3 separate regions of the Homo sapiens genome follow, and regions 1 and 2 are each linked to region 3. The links are contacts of gene promoters, found by promoter capture Hi-C in blood cells and fetal thymus (Javierre and others, 2016). All regions are on one chromosome and are shown on one strand. The core of a region is centred on a gene start or on the middle of the fragment in contact, and the rest is flanking DNA. Distances in the headings are between cores, read along the strand shown. Region 1 overlaps IADEN (IGF2BP1 associated definitive endoderm lncRNA). Region 2 overlaps ADCY8 (adenylate cyclase 8). Region 3 holds the start of EFR3A (EFR3 homolog A).

The links. The method cuts DNA at HindIII sites, captures the fragments that hold promoters and counts their contacts. A CHiCAGO score of 5 or more calls a contact.
Region 1: a contact is called between a fragment that was not itself captured here and the fragment with the promoter of EFR3A in region 3, in 1 of 17 cell types (monocytes). The highest score is 7.3, in monocytes.
Region 2: a contact is called between a fragment that was not itself captured here and the fragment with the promoter of EFR3A in region 3, in 1 of 17 cell types (M0 macrophages). The highest score is 5.6, in M0 macrophages.

The regions. Positions count from the first base shown.
Region 1 is chr8:131,316,645-131,320,659 of GRCh38, reverse strand. It overlaps IADEN (IGF2BP1 associated definitive endoderm lncRNA), which reads right to left. Exons shown (of 2, transcript XR_007061185.1): 2 at 2,773-3,326. Among named protein-coding and RNA genes, the nearest start is that of IADEN, 6.2 kb to the right of the region's middle. The HindIII fragment of the contact is 5,241 bases long and covers 1-4,015 here.
Region 2 is chr8:131,024,078-131,028,524 of GRCh38, reverse strand. All of the region lies in intron 1 of ADCY8 (adenylate cyclase 8), which reads left to right. Among named protein-coding and RNA genes, the nearest start is that of ADCY8, 15 kb to the left of the region's middle. The HindIII fragment of the contact is 1,889 bases long and covers 830-2,718 here.
Region 3 is chr8:131,901,455-131,905,485 of GRCh38, reverse strand. It overlaps EFR3A (EFR3 homolog A), which reads right to left and starts at 1,393. Exons shown (of 23, transcript NM_015137.6): 1 at 1,164-1,393. The coding sequence starts at 1,173. RefSeq lists an enhancer at 397-446 and a silencer at 1,017-1,496. The HindIII fragment of the contact is 8,534 bases long and covers 1-4,031 here.

The DNA.
Region 1 (4,015 bases), core at 584-3,083, 590 kb after region 3:
GATGTTGCTCAGGCTAGAGTGCAGTGGTCCCATCATAGCTTACTGCAGCCTCAAACGCCTTGATCAGCCTCTCAAATAGTTGGGATTACAAGCATGAGCCATGGTGTCTGACATTTTTTTTAAAGTTTGATAAGAATGTTAAAATAAAAATATTTTAAAATAAAATTGTTTTTTAATTTTTTAATGATTATATGCTTATTTGTTTTATTAGAAATAGTTGTTGAATTTTCTCAAATCCTTTTTTAAAAATATTTATTAAGATAACATTTACATTTTGTGTAAGAACTATTTACATCAAATAATCCCAAACTCCATCATGCTGAAATGTTTAACAAGATTAATCTAAAACCTCTTAAAATTAGCTGATTGGAGCAGAACTTCATCTTAAACAGACTCTGGGAAAATTAGTAGCTTTCTTCCTTCTGTTTACCAACACTTTCTCCCTTCTCATTACCCAAATAGACACCCTGCTTGCTGTTTCTACTCTTAGATCCACTTCAAACAGGCATGACTGCCTTCATTGTGAGTCATTTCCCTTGATTATTCCAATTACTGCCTCATGGAAATAATTATATTAACATTTATTTTGGAATATTGTCCTCTTTTCATATACATATATATATATATATATATATATATATATATATATATATATATATATATATTATTTTTTTTTTTTTTTTTTTTTGAGATGGGGTCTCGGTTGGCTGCTCAGGCTGGAATGAGGTGGCGTGATCTCAGCTCACCACAACCTCCGCCTCCTGGGTTCAAGCGATTCTCCTGGCTCAGCCCCTAGAGTAGCTGGGACTATAGGCGTGCACCACCATGCCCGGCTAATTTTTGTATTTTCAGTAGAGACGAGGTTTCACTATGTTGGCCAGGCTGGTCTCAAACTCCTGACCTTGTGATCCACCCGCCTTTGCCTCCCAAAGTGCTGGGATTACAGGCGTGAGTCGCCGCGCCTGGCCAACATTGTTTTTTACTTCATTCAACATCCTCATTGTTTTCTTTCTTCTTCAAGACCAACCTTGTCCCCCAAGGAATGTAACATCTTTCCTTTTTATCTTCCACCATTGCCTTGACCCTAGACCCATAATTTTAAATCTTTTTCCTTTGTTCACAAAGTATTACAATTTTGAAGTGCAATTATTTTGAAGCTGGAGGAAAAAAAAATGGCCTCTTTATAATTAGAGGTCTAGATTTCTGGGGCCAATGCACTTACGTAGAAGGAGACATAAATAAATAAAGTGACATTCCTATTGTCATGGTGCTTATGTCCTTGAGGGGAAAACAATCAAAAAGTATGGATCAGACGGTGAAAGGTGCAAAGAGAAAAATAAAGCAGAGGAAAGGACCATAGAATGAAAAGGTGCTAGTGTTAGCCAAGATCTCTGTGAAGATAAACCATGCGGGTGCATAGCAAAAAAAAGCACACCATGCAGTGTTTTTGCATAGATAATGCAAACACCCTAAGATAGGGTGTGCTTACTGTGTTTGAGGAACAGCAAGGTACTCGATAGCTGCGTCAGAGGGACAGTTGGAGGAGGCATAGGGGATAGGGCATGTGACTTGAGAGGTAGCAGGAATAAAGGAGACAATGGGTCATTTTAGCAATAGTTAGAGCTTTGATAGAGTGCAGTGTGCATTGGAGCATTTTGAGCAGAGGATTGACTTAGGCTGCTCTGAGAAGCATAGACTACAGTGGAGCAAAAAGGAAATGCAGAAAACCCATTAAGAAGACTGTCACAATAATCCAGGTGAGACATGATGGTGCTTAGACCCGAGCGGCAGCGACAGAGTTTAGATAAGTGATTGGATGCTGTGTGTATTATTTCAAAGTTAACAGTTGTAAAATTTGCTCATGGACTGAATATGGGAAATAGAGAAATTAGAGGAACCGGTTACTCAGAGTGTTTTACCCGAGCAAATGAAAGAAGGTTTCCTTTTCTTGAATGGATACGTATATAAAAAATAGATTTTTTTGGTGAGGGGTGGGGTGAAAAGAGTTTGTTTCACATATGTTAAGGTAGTGATTCTAGAGGAACATCACACTGGGGCTGCCAAATAGACAGACAGTCTGATATACATGTAGAATTAAAGAGGGACGTCAGAGCAAAATATATTACTTTGAGAGCCATCAGAAGAATATTGATGTTATTTAAGGCTGTGGCATTGGATGGGTAAATCTAGAGTGTGTGCACTGATTGCAAAGAGAAGCCAAAGGGCTGAGTCCCAGGACATTCAAATTAAAGAGGTCAGGAAGATGGAGAGCACACAGAAAAAGTAAAAAAGAAGGAGCAGTCAGCAGGTGAGAAGTAAATCCAGAGGCAGTGGGACCCAGAGGCCAAGCAAAATAAAGGTTTCAGATAAGCAATGGAGACATGGAGTTCTCAGAAGAAGCACCTTGGTGAGATGCCTTTCACAATTTTAATATTGTAATTGTGTTTCTCTTCCTTTTTGTGCTTAATATAATCAAGAAAGTAAAATTATTCATCAAGTAATTCACAAGCCACATTTTTAAGAGTTAAAGTGGAGCCTAACTGAAAATATTTTTGCTGGGCAGTTAGGAAACTAAGTTATAGCCCTTGGTTTGGACAAGCCAGGTTTCCTCTTGTGCACTTTTGGACTCACCATGTAGATAGCTCTTCGCTCAAAGAATGAAGACATAAAAGTGGGTGATATCCAAGCTCCTAGTAGGTAACATAACGACTAGTCTACCGTAAGTGCCCAATAATGACTGAGTAAATGAATGAATAAACAGGCAAATAAATGTTCTTTCCAGCTCTAAGATTTTATTATTGGCATTGCAACTCCCTTTCCTGTTAAGAAACATGGGCAGGACTGGGGTGAAACCACATCAGCAATTGCAGCTCTTTTTCGTTTATTCCTAGTGGCTTGCCTATAGAGACACTTAATTATTTATACTGCCTTTAGGAAGTGCAACTGGGCTCTGCTGCTGTGGATGCCGTTTCTGTTATTATTAGTCTCAGAGCTATTTCTTATTTCCTCCAGCACAATGAAGGTGGTGAAATAAGTAACCACACTTCCTTTTCCAAAGCCGCTGAAGTGCTCAGCTCAGCAGTAGTCAGACTCCTCCAGCATTTAATGAGAACTATGAAAGACCTAATTTCCTTTGTTGTCCTCAGTTCCCTTGACCTCAGATAATCAGATAAGCAGCAACACAAGAGGACCGGTGAGTTATTTCAATGGTTTCTCTCCAACATTTTTTTGTTCATGTGCAATCTGAGCATGACTATGATTTGTTGTTGTTGTTGTTGGTTAGCCTTTTCTCAAAACTGACTAGGCTGTAGCATTCCATTACTTTTCTGAAAAAAACAAAAAAACAAAAAAACAAAAAAAAAACAAAAAACGAAAAACAACCATTCAGCACCTGCTAGATATTTGTTGCTATAGGGCTAGGAATCTTCATTTTGTTACTTCCTTCTTTCCTCTTTCCCTACCCTTTTTTTCTAAAACTTTTGTTCCACCATTTTCTTATTTTCTTTTGATCAGAACACCAATTTAAACTATGAAATACACTAAGGCCTCAAAATTGATTAATAAATGTTAACTTCATGGTTCAATGCTATGCACAGTGTTTATAAACGTTAGACCACACAGTCCCTGTAATGGAGATAAATGTACTCCAGTTTAAAAGGAAATGTCAACATATCTGCTATTCAGGTGCAGTGATCATTATTTGATAAAATATTTAATTTACCCAGTATCTGTTGAGAACAAAATTCCACATTGACACTAATTGTAAATGGTTGGCACTCTATGGGTTCATGGTTTAGTGAAAGAGGTTTACATATAAGTGTATTCTGTTGCAAAGTTGACAGACACCAGTGTAGATGTGTAAAACAACGTGGATAGTGAGAGTGAAAAATATTTTATCACAGTTAGATCTTCAGTTAGAATGTGAAGCAAGGACATAGTTTCAACAGGCAGGTATGAGTTTGTGAATTTTCAGTGATAGACTAGCTTAAAAAAATACCAGCGTGATAGGCATAGA
Region 2 (4,447 bases), core at 525-3,024, 880 kb after region 3:
ATCACTAAGAGCAAGCTGGTTTTCTTCTAAAGTCAAATCTCCCACACCCTCATTCATCGGGTGAGCCTTCCCAGCCTATTGGAGGCGGGTAGTTCATTTGAGAATGAGTTCATGGCCCCAAGTGGTCAATGTGCAGTGACTACAAAGTCTCCTCTTTTCTATTTATGAGAGATATATTGCCCTTGGCTCTTGCCAGGTGAATTATGACATGATACGCAGCTCTTTGGGCCCTGCCCAAGCCATCTCAGCCAGAGAGAAGCTGTGCCAATGGACAATGAAAGATATTTTTGAAACCATGTAAGTATATTTCCTTAAAAACATAGAAAACACAAATTCTCCTCCTGTTTTTGCTATGGGTTTTTCACAGCAACTTTGGCTTCAGCTTCTTTGGGCCAAAATTTCTTCATGTCTAAAAGAAGGATAGTTCAACACTCCTGACCCAGTTAGATATTCCTCCTCTGAGGGCATGGCCCTTTACCTGCCCATTTATCCTGCCTCATTTTGCAGTGCTATTGGCTTCCACATCTCTCTCACCAGCTGGGCTGTGAGCTTCACAAAGTCTGGGGTGGCATCTGGGTCACTGTTAAGTCTCTACAGCATAGTGTAGTGCTGGTTACATACTCTTCTTTCTCAGGTTCCTCCAGGTCTTGTTTTTCAATTCACCTCTTCAATGTTGGGGCTCCTGAAGTTTCCGTCCTATATGACTTCACATTATCTCACTCCACACCACTCCCTGGATAATCAAATCCCTCCCTCAGTCAGCAAGTATGTATCTTTGTGCTGCTAACTCCTAACCCTGTATCTCTACCCCAGTTTTATCTGCTAAGCTTAAGACCTGGCAATCTGGAGACCTACTGGATACCTCCATTGAGGCAGCCCAACCCCAACAAGTAACAATTGACTCCATCCCGTCTGATATCTACATGAAATTCTGATGGTTTAGTCTTCCATTGCTGGGGTCTGTCCACAGCTCTCTATCCTGCTCTTTCTGTTCTAGTGCAGCCCCACCCCCAAGATTCATCAAGCCACCCCATGCTCCGCTGAACCACCCCAACACTCCCCAGTGGGAGCTTCTCCCATATGCTAGCATTCTCACCACTTCACTTCACTGGGTAAGTTCTACTGTTGAACCTCATCACCAGTTTTCTTCATATTCCATGCTGGCTTCTGCCTGTGTGTGTTTTCTAGGACAATTGTTTACCTTCCTTGCCTGGCAATATTCAAGTGTCACCACTTCCTGGAATTCCTTCTGTACCCCTTCTCCGGGACAAGTACCTGCTTAAGAATAAGTGGGGTGTGTTTAAATGGAGAATTGTGTTTGTTTGACTTTGATAATCTAAGCTCATGTTAGGTGTTTAAGGAAAGGAGGGGCAGAGAGATAAGCAGAATTTGACAAAAAAATGAGCAGTCCTTCAAGCATGACTCTCAATGAGACAGAACTGTATTGGAGATTGCTATATGCCAAACTTAACACACTTCCCAAGGAAAGAAAAAAGCATAGAGTTCATAGCACAGGATGTGGATTCAGACTGCCTGGGATTGATCTGCAATTTTTTCATTTTATAACACTGACAAGAGCCTCAATCTTTCTGCACCTCACTTTCTTCAGCTGTAAAATGGGAATAATAATAATAGCTCAGGAGGTTGTTGAAGAGATGAAATAATACACATGGAGTATTTAAATCAGAACCTGGTAAAGAGGAATCAGGTAATACATTTCATTTGATTTTATAATTTAAGTTTTAAAACAATCACCCTTTTTCAATGAGTTCTCTGCCCTAAGCTGACAGTTTCTGGGCTTCACCTGGCTTAACCCCTGCATCTTTTAGACCAGTGCTTCTCCAACTTTAATGTGAATAGGAATCACTTGGAGATCTTGACAAAATTTGGATTTAGGAGGAGGACCCTAGGTTCTGTGTTTCTGACAAGTTGCCAGGTAATGGATGCTTGCAGTCTGCAGATCATAATTTGTGGGAAAGGCTTTGGAGTTTGGCACAGACCCCACCTTCTCTTCAGTGGGTCCCTGCTACTCCACCAGGTAGATTTAGATCCCTGTCCTCTAATTCACTTATATTATTGAACATTCAGGCTTCCATAGCAATATACCATAACTGACTGACTTGTAACAAACAAACAAAAAAAAACATTTATTTCTCATAGTTCTGGAGGCTGGGAAGCTCAAAATCTAAGCACCAGTAGATTTGGTGCCTGGTGAGGGCCTGCTTCCTGGTTCACATGGCCATCTTCCGACTGTGTCCTTGCAGGATGAAAGAGACAAGGCAGCTCTCTGAGGCCTTTTTTCTAGACACTAATCCCATTCATGAAGGCTCCACCCTCATGACACATTCACCTCCCACCTCTTAATTCCATCACCTTAGGGTTAGCATTTTAACATGTGTATTTTGGAGGGACACAAACATTCAGACCATAGCAACATTCTTCCATCATTCATTAATGCATGCTTTCATTTAGCCTCATATGGCGAATATTTATGGAGTACCACAGTGTGCTGCATGCAGGCAGTAGGGGTGCTGTGGTGAGGAAAAGAATCCAGGATCCTGCTATTAAAGAGATTATAATCTAGAGTTATAGACAGTCATCCATCAAATAATCACCTAAATAAGTGAATGATTTCAAACTGAGTTAAGGACTTTTAAAGCAGGTTTGATGTGGGGCCATGATTAGTTGAGAAAAGTGAGGCATCCAGGGTACAAAGCTTACAAGAAGCACTTGTTCTCAGGGGCTGACCCTGCACTTGTGCAACCCTGCGAAGGAATAATTCCTGAAATTGTGTGCTCTAGGCATTCAGCTTGCACTCATTTCTATTTAAAAGGAAAATCCTGACTAGACCTGAGATGAGGAAATTATTCTTAATATCTACAGGAAGAATTCATGTTAGCAGGTAAGATTGGAATTATGTTTTATTTATTTGTCTCTACTGTTAAACAACGTGCTCTTTGAGAGCAGGGTCTGTCCTTTTGTATATCACCGGAATGGACACTGGCACATCACGCGGGAATCTCATATCAGAAGCTTGTTGAGTAAATGCCTGAACAATCATATTCGCATCAGTATTGCTGTTTCCCTTTTTATAGTTGAGGATGCTGAACACAGAGTTGTTACAGCATTTCCCTTTGGTCATATGATGAATACGAGATTTCATCCACAGCTATCTGATTCCAAAGCTGCCCTCTAGATTTGATGCTTCTTTAAGGCCACTTTATCTCAATAACTATGCTCATTTCAGAGGCAATAAGATTAATAAAGAAAAAGAAAAATGAAATGTACCTTGCAAATAGTAGCAATGTTTATCATGATAGTTATCACTATCATAGATAGAGCCAAGGGGATAAGCACACTGTATTGAAAACAACACCTGAATAAAGGGTCATCAAAAGACCCACCTCAGATTTTACATACAAAACAGTGCAACTTTCTTCAAGCCACTCAGCCTGTCTTGGCTTCAAAATGAGTTTCTGATAGCTCTAAAATTCTATGACTATGAAATGATTTCTGAGTTTCCTTACAGCTCTCAAAAATTTTATTCCATGAGTTATAATGAATGTGCATGTGGGGATTGGTATGCTTTCCCCATTTATTTGCCTCCCAAGATCAGATAATGACAATTCTTATAGAACACATAACTTGTTGAGGTCTTTGACCTCTGAGATTCTTAAGAAGAGAATTATGAGTAATGATTTAGCAAATACTGAAAGAATCACTCCCTAGATGGTATTTAATATTTAATTTCTCCTAGTGGTTTAATTACATTGGCACCATCAGTTGCAAATTTGTGTGTCATTTTAGTCATTCAGTCATTGAATTTGTTTCGAACGGACTAGTAATTGTGATAATTAATTGACAAACAATTGTGTACTTTGACTATATAATTAGTGACTTCATGGCACTTGCCTATCTCTCATTTCCACAATGTGCATGTTACTGTAATCAACAGCCATTTTGTGAAAGTATTACCGAGCCATGATTGAATTGGACATTTACACAGCCTGAATAGTCACAACCTGGAGCCCGACTTTGGCACATTCATCTTCCTTGTCTATGGACCCCAGGAAATAGATAAGGTAGCCTGAAGGAACTCACTTAATCCTGCTATAGGTTAGTCACTGCATCCATAACAAGATGAGAATAAAGTAGCTCCTTTATCAGTAAATGAGCTAATGAATAAGAAAACATTTTGAACCAATATACAGCAGTAAACAAACACTGGGCTGTATTATTATTATTATTATTAATTATTCCTATAACACAGTTGTGTCTGATGATGTCACGCAATAGCAAGCTGTCTTGTTCTGTCATTGGCGTGAAACTGCCAAACACGCGACAGTGGTCCACAAGGTGACTCCACTCATGAATCACCTGAACAGTGGATGAAACAAATGGTGCCCTGGGCCATTGCTGGCAATAATGAGCATTGCACACTAGAAAC
Region 3 (4,031 bases), core at 144-2,643:
CAGGAAAATCTTTAAATCTCAAAAAGATATTTAAATATCTTTAATATCAATTTAAATTTAATATCCTTAAATATCAGGAAAATATCAATCTTTATAATATCAAGAAATAACTCATCTTTTCCCACCACTAGACGAAACGTGCATTGGAGACTGACCTGGAAATTCAGCGTCCCAGATGGCTACAAAACAAGGACAACTAGAAGTAGTTATGAATTCTAGGAAATATATTCACAAGTGTGTAAAGATTCTATAGTATTGAACACTTAGTCAAAGGAGTCCTACTTGAATTCTCAAATCAATGACAAAGTTGCTTCCTCTCTACCCAAGATCAGGAGCTTCCCTAGTTTGCACATATCCACATTGACCAGTGGCTATAAAGTCACACTGCGATTATCTGGGTCATTTTAAAATAGGTCATTAGCAGTACTTGTAGTATCGCGTCTGTCTAAAAATCCTCCAACACCGAGTGACTTTTAAACTTTGGGGTGCCTTGGTAACCCCAGGGACGCTTATTAGACATGCAGACTCCGGGGCCCAAGCTCCAGACTAATTCCATGGGAATAGGGCGGGTCCCGAAACCGGCATTTTTAATCATCTGCCCGGGTGAATCCGAAGTGTGGTCCAAAAGCCACAGTCGAGGTGCCTCTGCCTAACAAGCTCCACAGAAAGCTCCGACTTCAGCCGCCCCGACGGCGATACGGACGCCGAGTTAGGCTGTCGGGGGTCTGTCTGGCGGCCGCGGGAAGGGACTCGGGGCCGGCGCGTCCACTAGCGACGTCCGGCCCGAGGTGAGAAGGGACTGACAATGGTACCGCAGTTATTTTCAATATTTCCATAAAGTCCCACGAAGCCGTGTGGCCGTGGGAAAAGGGCTTTAACTTTGAAATCCCACGGGTCAGGTTACCACCAGCTCTGCCGCCTCCTAACAGCGCGTCCCCGCAGTTCCCTTAACGTTCGGGCCTCAGTTTCCCGATCCGTGCAACGGGCTCACGCCATCTCCGGAAGGCTAAGCCGAAACGAAACTAACTCCGCCGCTCGCAGACACTTCCTGGCTCTGCTCAGCGCGGCCCAGCCTCCCCAGCCGCCCGGGAGGAGTACCCGGCCCAAGCGCGTCGCGCAGGCAGTCGCCTCCCAACGCCCCCGGCCCTCGGCCGGCCACTCACGGGTAGGCATGGCGATCTCGACCGCGCTCGCCGCCGCACCGAGGCTCAGCGGGGCCGCGCAGGGAGCGCCGACGGCACCATGACGGCCGTTGCTGGGCCGCGGAGGCCGGAACGAGGCGAAGGGCGAAGGGCGAAGGGTGGAGGGAGCGGACGCGGACCCCGCGGTCACGCAACCAAGCGGGCGACAGCTACCGCCGCCAGCCCACTCCTCGCCGGGCGGCGCGACGGACGACCCACGCCCGTTACGTCAGCGCGCCGCCGCCGTCCCGGCCCCGCCCCCGCGGATGGCCGGGCTCGGCCCAGGATCCCTTGTCGAGCGGGTGGAATGGGTGGCTGGGGACAGCCACGTAGAACAACTTCGGGTGCCTTCTATTTTCCAAGCCTGGTGACCTGCGTGGCATTCGTTTTCCTTGATCTCTATTTGGAGTGCATCACTTTACGTTTGTGAGGATGATGGCTTTGAGCGCACGGAGTACCTGTGGGCTTTTTCTTTTGCAATCGGTTTAACTTGCAGTGCGTTTTGCATACTCTGAAAGCATGGTTTATTTGAGATGCACTAAGGTCATTTGGGGTGATGGCTGCTCATTTTTTGAGAGGGCAGAAAATGTAATTTCCTTTTGCTCTTGTGACTTTCAGAGCGACCTTATCCCTCAGGAGTTAGTCTCCTCTGGAGAGGGCAGCTCTGTGCACTTGGCTGAGCTACTCTTCTTGACTCTGGGTGTCATTAATAATTGAGGTATCTAATAGTCACCAAGCTGAGCAGACACCGGGAGCCAGAGAGCTGAGCAACGCACCTACACTATGCTAGGCGCCGTGGGCTGCGGACAGCCCATATGGAGATATAAAAGCCAACCGCAGAGGTTTAACACAGCCTTCCTCAAAGTGGGTCAAAGTGGTCCAGGATCCTTTTGTGCTTGGATCCCCTGGGGACTTGTTGAAAAGCAGATTCCTAGGTGCTGAGCCAAATCTACGAACACATATACAGATGATTTAAATACAATGATAATACTGAGAACCTTTGTCCTAAAAAGTAGGGCTAACCTTCTGATTAAGAAATGATATTGTGCAGTACTGGGAGGAGAAGATGAAGAACATGAAGATCAGAGCTAGGAAGCGCTGAGGAGAAATTAGTCTTGGCTTGAGGTGGACTTGGAAGAAAGCAGAATTTGAATTAGCAAAGCCTAGGGGAGTCCTAAAAGAGGCTGGGGAGAGGATGAAGGGTAATTTAGAGTGAGTCATGGCAGCTGGGGAGAGGAGAGTGTGTACTGTACCTATAAAAGAGACTGTCCAGCTGGGAACGGTGGCTCACGCCTGTAATCCTAACACTTTGGGAGACCGAGGTGGGCGGTGGGCAGATCACCTGAGGTCAGGAGTTCGAGATCAGCCTGGCCAACATGGCGAAACCCTGTCTGTACTGAAAATGCAAAAATTAGGCGGGGGTGGTGGCACATGCCTATATTCTCACTCAGCTACTTGGGAAGCTGAGGAAGGAGAATCGCTTGAACCCAGGAGACGGAGTTTGCAGTGAGCCGAGATCGGGCCACTGGACTCTAGCCTGGGCTACAGAGCAAGACTCCATCTCAAAAAAAAAAAAAAAAAAAGAGAGACTGTCCCTTGCTAACAGTAAAGACCAAACTACCTAGTGCTTATTCATGTTTTAATGCCCTGTTGCATATTTTATCACCTATAAAATCTTTCATGCTTCCAGTTTTCTCCCTAAGACTTTGGCATTATCTTGATTCCTCTCTGCTACAGCACTTTTCTCACTGCATCCTAAATAAACTGTCATGAGTGCTTGTGTTTTACCATGGGCCTATTTGCTTTTCAGAAAATGGCAAAAGCCATATTCTGTTCATGTTTATGTATCCTTGGCTGGCACACAGGTGGGGGCCAGAGTATATTAATTCAATATATAAATAAAGGATTTTATTCAAGAGTATGAAAACAAAAACAGGTAAATAAAACTGATAAACAACTTTACATTCAACCTTGGAATTTGTCTTTTAAGAAACTGTTCTGTGATTTTTACAAAAAGCATAACAGTAACATTAAATTATCAGAAGCAGGGCCTTGCAGGGGGAATGGTGTGGCAGAGAAACTGTGGAGGTAGGCAGCCAAATCGGAAGGCCCCAATACAGGAGAGAGTGTTAGGTGCTCAGTCTTGGTGGTGGCTGTGGAAAAAGAAAGAACTGAATCTTACTTTGGAAAAGAATCCCTGGATTTGTTGGCTGCTGACTTGGGAGCAATAGAGAGGCATCTGTTAGTTATGTAACTCCAAGGTTGGAACAAGGAAAGTGGTGGTGCTGGAGAGCAGTAGACCAGTCAGGAAGAAATGCTGTTTTAGGGAAGGGGTGTGAAGAAAGGTGTGAGTTTCTCCTTGACATATTGAGCTTGAGGTGGTATCAGAGGGAGACATCCGAGTGAATGAATCTGAAGGCAGCTGGGCAAGCCAGGATGAAGGTGGGCTGAGGGACCTCAGGGTGGGAGATTTGGAAATCTTTGGTCCCGGGACAGGAGCTGAAGCTGGGTGTCAAAGAGAGCCCTTTTAGGGAAGATGTGGAGGCAGTGAAGGCACAGAGAGACGAGATCCACAGGATACAGTGCCCCAGGAGCCAAGGGAAGACATGACTCCAAAAGGCAGACATCTCTGCTTACATTACCTTGAAAAAGATGCAGATCCCAAAGGCCCTGAAATTGTCCTGCACATACTGGTTGTTTTTTTGTTTGTTTGTTTTTCATTTCTTTCTGTTTTTAATCCTCTTGGTCTTTTGGTTTTGTATTGTTGCCAGAAATAAAAATCAGCAGCCAAAGATTCTGAGGAAGGACAGCTGAATGTCAGGAAAAATAGTGTCATAATGTTTTGATTAT